Regions from separate parts of the Homo sapiens genome. Here all the other regions are linked to region 2. The links are contacts of gene promoters, found by promoter capture Hi-C in human tissues and cell types (Jung and others, 2019). All regions are on one chromosome and are shown on one strand. The core of a region is centred on a gene start or on the middle of the fragment in contact, and the rest is flanking DNA. Distances in the headings are between cores, read along the strand shown.

Evidence for each region. The method cuts DNA at HindIII sites, captures the fragments that hold promoters and counts their contacts. A contact is called where the count stands out against the background at its distance.
Region 1: a contact is called between a fragment that was not itself captured here and the fragment with the promoter of DLX6 in region 2, in 2 of the 25 tissues and cell types used here (bladder and thymus).
Region 3: a contact is called between a fragment that was not itself captured here and the fragment with the promoter of DLX6 in region 2, in 1 of the 25 tissues and cell types used here (thymus).

Annotation. Positions count from the first base shown.
Region 1 is chr7:96,770,498-96,773,954 of GRCh38, forward strand. No RefSeq gene overlaps it. Among named protein-coding and RNA genes, the nearest start is that of SEM1, 62 kb to the left of the region's middle. The HindIII fragment of the contact is 5,784 bases long and covers 1-3,457 here.
Region 2 is chr7:97,003,733-97,006,989 of GRCh38, forward strand. DLX6 (distal-less homeobox 6) reads left to right here and starts at 1,821. Exons shown (of 3, transcript NM_005222.4): 1 at 1,821-2,681. The coding sequence starts at 2,246. All of the region lies in intron 1 of DLX6-AS1 (DLX6 antisense RNA 1), which reads right to left. RefSeq lists an enhancer at 538-1,259 and a silencer at 2,572-2,671. The HindIII fragment of the contact is 17,411 bases long and covers 1-3,257 here.
Region 3 is chr7:96,831,783-96,835,255 of GRCh38, forward strand. No RefSeq gene overlaps it. Among named protein-coding and RNA genes, the nearest start is that of SEM1, 120 kb to the left of the region's middle. RefSeq lists an enhancer at 1,902-2,397. The HindIII fragment of the contact is 5,301 bases long and covers 1-3,473 here.

The DNA.
Region 1 (3,457 bases), core at 367-2,866, 230 kb before region 2:
ATAGATAAAGTTGGAGAGACACAGAGAACATGATGTGGACTAGTGGCTTCTCTGATCAGGGAGAGTGGTTTGGTAGATAAAGGGTGAATGACAGAGATCAATTCAACTGTTTTACAGTTTTGTTTGGGATAAAACCATTTACTTCTTTTAAAAAAGTGGAAAAAATTCTATTAAAAAAGTAGAAAGCATAAAAGTAGGCAAATTTAATGAATAAGGTGATTTTCCTTCCCTCTAACAAATCTGTTTCTGTTTTTCATGTGTTAATGTAATCTACCATCCCATCGGTCCGTCAGCACATCATGCTTATAGTTTTACAGTATGGCACTTCCCAGATAAGAATCCCATTCTTTCTTTTCCTCTTACATGATTTCAAGAGCTGTCTGGCGGTCAGACTGTTGAATTGAATTCAAGGATGCTTTCAGATTCGTGCCATGAAACAGGCAATTCACCTTATCTCCATAAGGCACATTACTGTCCCCCAGTGAATGACATCTGACAGAAACAGTAAAGAGTGACTTATCTAGAATCTAGCAAGCATTTCTTTTCCCAGGATGGGCTGAGAAAGGGATGTTAAAAGGAAGGCATGGCACGTAAATCTTGTGTAACCACAATGAGTACATTGTAAGTCAGCCCACATCAACCATTGTGGCTGGAAAACCTATACTATGGCACCTGTCCTTGCAGAACTGAAAATAGTGAAATTCCATTTCAACCGAAATCAAATAAAAAGTCCAATCGGCTGGATGTTCCAAAGACAGAGCCCCCTGTAGGTTTATTCATGGGGAAGATGCAGCCCCTGAAACTATGCATGAGACCAGAGTACATTTCTGTTGGGAGACCTTGTTGCTGAGTCTGGTGGGACCACGGAACCAGAGTTGCTACCAGGCATTCACTGTGGGGTAAAATAGGGTCCCAAGTTTTCCATTCAGTTATGGATGCAGTCTCTCAGAAATGCCTGTAAAAGTGCTATTGGCTGCTATTTTCTGCTGGAAACAGATTGAAACCTCAGTGTAAGTAAATAATCTCATTCTGAGGCAAAGAAAGACTTTCTAGTCCTCAGTGTGGGGCTTGTTTTAGAGTTTCACATGGAGTCATAAGGTGGGTATAACTGGGAATCAGTTCCAGATTTCCACTGGATTCTGTATACTGAAAATTGCAACATCAATGGACAATAAATTAGTTCACAGCTACTCTGGGTTTGATGCGTGGGAAATGTCATCACAATGGTTGTCTCCCAATTTATAAACCAGTAGAAATTTTTTTTTCTTGGAAAATTGGACACATATGTGGCTATGATTAGCCTCATGTTTATTTTTCATTTCTAAAAAGTATGAGTAAATGTCTACTACATTCGGTGCCCTGTGTGCCAGCATCAGTGGAGAATGGGTTTGGGCAGGGTTAATACTGTTTTTAAAAAATGATTATTAAAAATATTTATTGGGTAAAAATTTAAAACTAAAACTTGTCCTGAAGTTGAATATCCAACCTAAAATCAAATCCACCACGGCTTCATTGTGGTTAGAGGTGCTAATCAAAGATTAAGTGGATTTGCTTTATTGGGGATCCCCAGTTACCACCAAAGCACCTGTAATCTCTGAATTGTGGCCCTTTCTTGTAAAGCAATTCATTTGGTTCTTTCACATTTTTCCCCTTCAACCTCAACAGATTCCTGTGGCTTTTGTGTTATTTTTTCATCGCTCTGATTGAATAATTATTCCCATCCCATCTTGCTCATCTCCTTCTGCATCATATCTTTTGTTGCAGATTTAAACTTGCATGCACTCCCTCTTGTCTCTTCCCTAGTAAGTCCGCCCAGGAATGATTCTGCATGTGAATAGAAGGTGTTGACTGTTCAATATGTTTTGCATGTACTGTCAGCGGCTTTATTACTGCCTCTTTCCAGATCTTTGCCACTAAGAAGCATGAAGATGTTCATTTCAATAACTAGGCTCCTGTCATGTCACAATGGAATGGATGCCTGGGATCGTGTGGATGCTTTGAGTCATAATGAAGGTCGTGTCTAACTTGTGTCAGCAGCAAAGTGGCAAAGAATACAGAAATACCCTCATCAGAGGATATAGCAAAAGCATCCTCAGAGTGGAAGGAACCATTTTCCCAGAAACACCAGTCTTACTAATTTCTAGTGCCCAGCGGCTTGTAATCACAGTGAATGAACATGAAGTTTAAGATGGTGTAGGTGTCATTCAAAGAATGCTGAAGAGTCAAGATACATTCTCAATCAAAATGCAAGCACAAACTGAACTAATCTCTGAAGCCATTGTAGTATCCTCTTCTCTGCTAGATGTCCATCAATATCATAAATATGGCTGCTCTGGACCTATCTCAGTTTTGGATCCTATGAAAATTATTGAAATATATAACCATTCAAAAGAGAGAGTTGAACATTATGACAAGAAAGGATGTTTCTGCTATCTTGTTAAAGGTAGATACATTGTGTATTTATCATTTTGTTACACATATGCTAGACACACACAAACAGGGAACAAAGAATAAAATTCTATACATCAAAATATTAGCTGGGGATATCTCTGAGTGCTAAGATTACAGAAGAATGATATTTTTCCTTATGGTCATCTTTATTTCCACAGTGAATGAAAACAATGAATGTCATAGATTCTAAATTAAACCACAAGCAATTCAACTTCATATATAAAGGGCCCCCAAGGGGATAGGATCTAGATTAGAAACAAACACAACAGAAAGTCCATGTTACCATTATACGATTTCAAAAAGAGTAACTTAGGTGTTTTCATAATGATTTAGTGGTTCTAAAGCTGAAAACAAGTTATGATAGGTTCCAAATTAGTTTAGTTTTCACGGAGACTTTCAGTGTTCCCATTCACTGTTCCAATGTGTGTTTTGCTCATGTCTAATACTATTTTCAGATGGTTTGGGAGGAGAAAACAAAGATTTTGAAAGGCAGTGTCATCACATTTTATAATCATATTTGGAAAATAGCAATATTTTATTGTGCCCTTCTTTTAATATATATGTAGATGCCTTTCTTTTGGTATATTAAAAGAATATTTTCTGCTTCGTTTATGGCTTTTAGCAAGTTGGATTTTTTTTCCTATTTAGTGTTTTTTGATCTCCCTCCAAAAGCCTTATGACAGCTGAGTTTAAGTGGTTGCTTCAGGCTACAGAAGTCAAAGATGAAATTGAATTATGCTTCCAGGCTTGGCATACAGAATCAAGAAAAATTTCATTCATTATGATTAATTAATCCAGAAACACAGTGGTAGTATTATGATTATATTGTGTCTGGAACTTGGCATACTTTCCACTGACATTTACACAGTAAAGAAGAAAAAGGAATGGTGATTCTATGCCTAGTATATCACTCCATAATAGACAGGCTGGGAAAAATGAAAAGAAAAAGGCAAACAGGAGACTAAGGAAGAAAAGATGTTATATATTTTGTGGGGGTGGGAGCTGG
Region 2 (3,257 bases), core at 571-3,070:
AGTTAAAGGGGCAAGCGGCACCTTTTCTCTATTTCTCAGTTTCCTTCGGTCCTGTAACTTATGGAGTCCAGAAGAAGTAGGATATACAGAAGTCCTCAGTAGTTTTCCCAAAGGGAGACACTGTCTCCTTCCCGCAACCTCCAGACACTGCAGTACAGGGTTGTTAGATATTAGATAGTACGTTTCTCCGTGTGGGCAAAGGCTCGCGGCTTAGGTCTCTAAGCAGATCGAAAGTCGGGGTCCAGACCGAGAGGATCTTCAGGTCTCGTCCACCCAATCTCAAGCCTCTGGAAGGGCGGGCTGCCGGCGACCTCCTCCAGTCCCGGGACCCGGAACCCGGGACCCTGGACGCCGGTGCGGGCGGGCCTGCCCTCCTCTGTGCCTGGCCCCCAGTCTGGCCCTCCTACCTGTTGACCAGGCCTGAACCACGCACCGGGGCTCCGCTGTCTCTGCTTGGCTGCCTTAACCTGCGTGGGTCTGGAGACCGGAGGGAGAAAGGCTAGATCCGCAGCCTTGGGCTGCTCCGAACTTAATGTCTTTCCCCAGTCCATCTTTGAAAGAGAAGTGGTTCTACCACCTGGATGTGCGGATATAAATCCCCTTGCAAATAATAAATGGATTAATAATAACAAGGTATGAAGTTCTTTTTATAGAAAAAAAGGAGAGAATTGAAACTAAATGCGGCAGTTAGACAACCATTTTGATAAGAGGATAATTGAGGCGACACTGGTGTATAATTAGAGGATAATTTATGCTATATCCACTTTTATTCCACCTCCCAAAATAAACCCAGTCCATAATCATTACAGGCAAATTGTTCTGAATTTTATAGCAGCAATTTGAACAAAGTACTGCAGTTAATCATGGGAGATTTTTGTGTATTCCTGATTAGAACTCTAATTGCCTCCTTCCAGAAAGTAAAAATAACTGTAAAACGACTCTATTTTTATCATTAACAATGTTGACAATAAAATAAAATCAATTGGAATTGTAATCGAGAGACAAATTTAGGACGAAGGCACTTTTACTTGGGTAGTTTATATTGTAATCAAGATTTGCCAAACCACTAACCGCATGTATCATTTGCATATATTTGAAAGCATTACAGTAGCTTCTGTTTTCAATAGGAAAAAATGCATTACTGTCAGTCCTCCAACGATTCGTTTTCAGAACACGCTGCTGCGTTCTGAAAAGAAAAAAAAGACGCCCCCCCCCCCCACAACCTTTTGTACAATATATAAGAAATACGGCCTGAAACGGCAGGGACCGAGCCAGAACAGGGTCTGATTTTTCTTTTTCTGTACCACCCCCCAGTGGGGTGGAGCCCAGGTGTGAGGGTTCGTCTTCCTTCTGTGGTTTCAATAAAATACGTCTAGAAAAATCCACGGTGACAAGGAGCTCCCACAAGAGTGTAGTAGGACCAGAGTGGCAGGGACGTCAAGAAAGGGGGGCCTGGATTTAATGCGGGGGTGGGGTCACTGCTTCTAAGCACAGGCAACCTACAAGGGTGCAAAGGGATTGAAAGAGAGCAGCCCCCAGTTGGCTGTTTCAAGGCTGAGATATTGGCAACTGGGGCTCCGGGATTTGGGGCACGAGCTGCGGCGGGAAGCATCGGCGGCCGGCCGGGCAGAGGCGCCTCCCTCCCCAACGGCCCCGGGCGCCACACAGCGCGGCCCCCGGCTGCAGCTCCGGCTGGGATTGGAACTGCGGAAGGTAGGCGAAGAACTCTGCAAGTCGCGCACACGCCAGTAGAAGCCGTGCGCCTGTGACGTCAGGGGGCGACTGACCAATGGGGAGGCACTGCCCTTTGGAGACAAACCATTCGACTCGTGGCGTCTGCATCAAGTCTGAAAGCAGACGCGCAACTTTCGCAGAATCCACCTTAAAATCTCTGCCTTAAACTGCACCAGCCCCCAAAAAATCCAAGGGGGGAAAGCAGGCGGGGGGAGAGCAGATTCCCCCCTCCCCCTCTCCTCTCCCATCCCTCCTCCTTCCTCCTCCCTTTGAGTTAACAAGGCCCCGCTCACTATATCTCTTTATATTAAATATATATATATATTAGAGAAGAGCGAGGGAGAGGGAGAACCACCTCCACCCCCCTCTTTAAATTCTTTTTTTTTTTTTTTTTTTTTTTTGCAAGGATCCAAAGAGCTAAGGTGGCTGCAGAGGGGAGAGCGGCGCGAGCCAAGTGGGGGAGGGTGGAGGAAACCCGGGAGAAGGCTTTCTCCAGCCCCCAAAGTTTTTGATGATGACCATGACTACGATGGCTGACGGCTTGGAAGGCCAGGACTCGTCCAAATCCGCCTTCATGGAGTTCGGGCAGCAGCAGCAGCAGCAGCAGCAACAGCAGCAGCAGCAGCAGCAGCAACAGCAACAGCCGCCGCCGCCGCCGCCGCCGCCGCCGCAGCCGCACTCGCAGCAGAGCTCCCCGGCCATGGCAGGCGCGCACTACCCTCTGCACTGCCTGCACTCGGCGGCGGCGGCGGCAGCGGCCGGCTCGCACCACCACCACCACCACCAGCACCACCACCACGGCTCGCCCTACGCGTCGGGCGGAGGGAACTCCTACAACCACCGCTCGCTCGCCGCCTACCCCTACATGAGCCACTCGCAGCACAGCCCTTACCTCCAGTCCTACCACAACAGCAGCGCAGCCGCCCAGACGCGAGGGGACGACACAGGTGAGAGGCCGCTGGGGCAGCTCGCTTCTCCCGCCTCCCGACTGCCCCCTACCCCGCCCGCCCGCTCACTTCCTCGACGCCCGGGCCTCCGCCGGCCCCCTCCCCCAGGCGGCCCCGCGCGCCCTTGGCCGGGCCCCGTGCGCGCCCGCTCGCCTGGCGCCTGCCTGCCGGCCTCTCCCAGCCGGGCCCCTTCCCGCCGCCGCGGACCCTCAGCTTCCGACGCGCAGTTCGGGCTGAGTCCCGGGCCCGGCGCAGGCTTCGTTCGACGAGTTAGTCCACACTGCGCTCTCCAGCCTCCTGGGTCTGTGCGCCCTTTTCCTTGCTCCTTCCCTCCAGGCTGTAACCCACGTTTGACCCGGCTGGGGACATTTCTGGGCCGGAACTGGGGAGCGTGTTTTGCTTCCCAGCCCACGCTGGGCAGGCAGTGGCCTACTTTGCGTGGGGCGCCCCGTGCTCCTCAGTGACTCGGAGGGAAGCTGGCCTGGCTTTCGCTCTGGTTAAACTAGTAACAGTCAGGCTCTTTCCAGTGGGCTTTAAAGTGTCCCTCACCTTCATCCCTGACCGGGCCCCCTATCT
Region 3 (3,473 bases), core at 429-2,928, 170 kb before region 2:
CCTGGAGTGCAGTGGCTATTCACAGGCATGATCACAGAGCACCACAGCCTTGGGCTCAAGCAATCCTCCTTCTTAGCCCCCTGAGTATCTGGGACTATACTCAGGCACATGCCACCACACTTGGCTCCATTTTATGTCTTTTTTTAAAAAATCAGTCTACTTCATTGTTTCACTTCTATGCAGTAGAGATGCAACAGCAAAAATAGAGTGATAACTTCCCCCAGGCACACTGCTCTGCAAAAGCCACTGTTTCTTAGAGAAACACATATGAACACATTTCTAAGTTGTGCATGCTCAAATACATTTTGTAAATTATTATTCATAAAAATTCTTGGGTTTTATTAGTTTAGGGCTCAGTGAGCCTTCTAGCTGAACTATAGAGTTATGCAGTGTCTGGAAGCAGAATGGAGGGGGAAGCTAATTAACATAGTTCTTACATGACCAATGGAAATTCTTTATTTGCCCTCAGGATCTACATTGCTGTGTCTACTCAACACTGTTAAATATGACAAGGTCAGTAACCCTGTTTTTGTAAAAATGAATGTGAACAAACTTGGACCTCACACACATTGTCATTGTTTAACAGGGTCAACTGAGTTAACTGGGAGCATTATGCATGTATAGTGCCAAGAAGGCCCCATCAACAGTCAAGTATATAATGTTAACATATTAGCATAAGTAGTGGAGCAACAGATGGCCAAGCTAGAGCAAGTCAGATTAACCCGAAGATTCTGCACTAACTGTTGAGCCATAAGAGGGCTTTATATCTCAACACAGGAAACACTGGACAGGGACATGGGAGACCAGTGTTCTAGTCTTACCTCTGCCAGTTCCTTCCTAAAGGCTCAATTTCCACAGCAGTAGGATGAGCAATCTGACCAGAGGACATGGAAACCCCTTTTTGCTTGCAAAGCTATGATTCTAATGCAGTCTACAGGATAAATGCATTGCCTGTATGAATTTCAATGACAACTTATTTTTAATACAGTGTGTTTTGTACCGAGCTTCTATTTTTATTCCTTTGGTATTTGGCAGAGAGGTGGGAGGTATAGAAAGATGAACTCTAGCAAATCTGATTACCTAAAGTGGCCTGTGTTCAGGAACTTAGAAGTCTCTACAAGTTGGATAAAGTAACAACTGACATGAGCTCCTTAGGCCTTGCAACATTATCAGTGCTATAACACAATCTATTTATCATCTTCTGAGAAACTCTGTTTAGAATTCCAGTGGGAGTTTGTGACTCCCTTTATAATTCCAATGAAATAAACACTATTAAATCAATTTTTTTAGATTAAGAAATGAAGTCAGTTCCAGTTAAGTCATGTTAGGACAATTTAAAACCTTAACCAACAATTACTTTTTAAATGTATGTTGTTAAAATTTGCTTTTTTTCTGTCATTATACATACATCCAACAATTCATAATATCAGATAAATACTAGGCAAATACTATTACAGGGTGGAACTATAAGTTGCCTAGAAGGAAGAAAATATTCTATGAACATGAAACAAGCTTCTTTTGGTGAAAGAAAGGGAAACAAATATAAAATAAAAACTATCTAATGGAAAAGTACTATAAAGTATTGTAGATTGGCATATAAATAAGCCAAAGGATATGAGGGAAGGAGTGTTGCTTTTAAATCCATTTAAGTGTAAATAGACATCTTAGAAAACAATTTATTTTTAATGTAAATTGTCCTAATGTTATAGTACAAATTTCCTTTACATATCGTATTGGTTAAACTGTGTCTTTTCAACCCTAATTTTTTTATATTAAATTGTAAATGTTTGTACTGAGCCTTTTAAATGCTTGATGCAGTGTTATTATTCTGCAGCAAAACATTTCTGATGCACAACATTATTTTAAAATAAATCTCTCAAGATGATCATAGTTGCTGAAGTCCCCTGAAATTTATGGCATTTAAGAATAGATGTGTGTTTCTTCGGTGTGGGAGTTCTTCAAGGGAATTTTTAACTGCTGATGCAAACGTTAGTAAGCAATGCACTTGTTTGGTTAAGACTTTTAGCCTTGACCTCAGGCTTTAAACCCTTGTCCTTTATTAATCACGTGTTTCCTGAATCAAAGAGAATACTTTTGGAGGGGGAAAATTGTTCTGGGACTGAAGGAGTGTTATATACCAAACAGACATGCCCAGATGACAAATAACCCCTGAATGATAGCCAGGGTTCATCCAGCTGGTCGGCCCCATATTATGTGATTGATGGTGTTGATGTTCTAAATAGGCCTAAGATGTGCCAAGTATAAGAGCCATAACAAAGTCCTTCAGATTTACACTGTAGATAGAAGGAGGAAGCGAGAAGGCATGTTCCCAGCACATGGCAATTCTAAGAATGGTGTCATGATTACAAGTAACCTTGCAGGGTTTGTCTGGTTTATTTCGAAGTTAAACAAAAACTATTTGTTGGTCAGGAATGAATAGGGTCACATAAGGTCTGTCTCAACCTTATGATTACTAAAATGTTTCTCTGTAACTGGACACCTTCTGAAGCTAGAATAACATTGGAATCCATTGTAGGGATCAATACACTGATTTTTCCTTTGCCTTTTGAGGCTTCTGAGAAAATAAGAAAGGTTCTTTGCTTTAAAAACGAGGTATTATCGTGACATATATTAAAGCCATTAAGTATTTGAAGTAAAATATCTCAAAGATTATTTATCCTAACTTCATTCTCTTTACATTTGGGAAAAGGGAATGGCATTTTTAATCAAGCAGAGTCACAATAACGCTATGTTTATTCCTTTAAAGCATTTATGAATAATTCTTTAGAAGCAAACAATACAGAAAAAAGCCAAAAACTCATATTTGAGCTTTTCAAGAAGACAATGATAGTACTTTCTATTTTAAAATGAATGTTAAATATACTTCATATGCATAAGAAGCTGTTATATTATTATTTTGTTGTTTTTTAATTTATTTTTTATTTCAATAGGTTTTGGGGGAACAGGTGGTGTTTGGTTACATGAATAAGTTCTGTAGTGGTGATTTCTGAGATTTTGGTGCACCCATCACCTGAGCAGTGTACACTGTATTCAATGTGTGTAGTCTTTTATCCCTCACCACCTCCACCCTTCCCCCGCACCAGTCCCCAAAGATCACTCTATCATTCTTATGCCTTTGTGTCCTTGTAGTTTAGCTCCCACTTATGAGTGAGAGCATACAATGTTTGGTTTTCCATTCCTGAGTTACTTCACTTAGAATAATAGTCTCCAATTCCATCCAGGTTGCTGTGAATGCCATTATTTAGTTCCTTTTTATGGCTGAGCAGTAATTCCATGGGGTGCATGTGCGTGTGTGTGTGTGTGTGTGTGTGTGTGTGTGTGTGTATACATATATATATATACTCACACATACGACATTTTCTTTATCCATTATTTGATTGATGGGAATTTTTGCAATTGCAATTTGCAATTGCAAATTGTGCTGATAAACATGCATGTGCAAGTACCTTTTT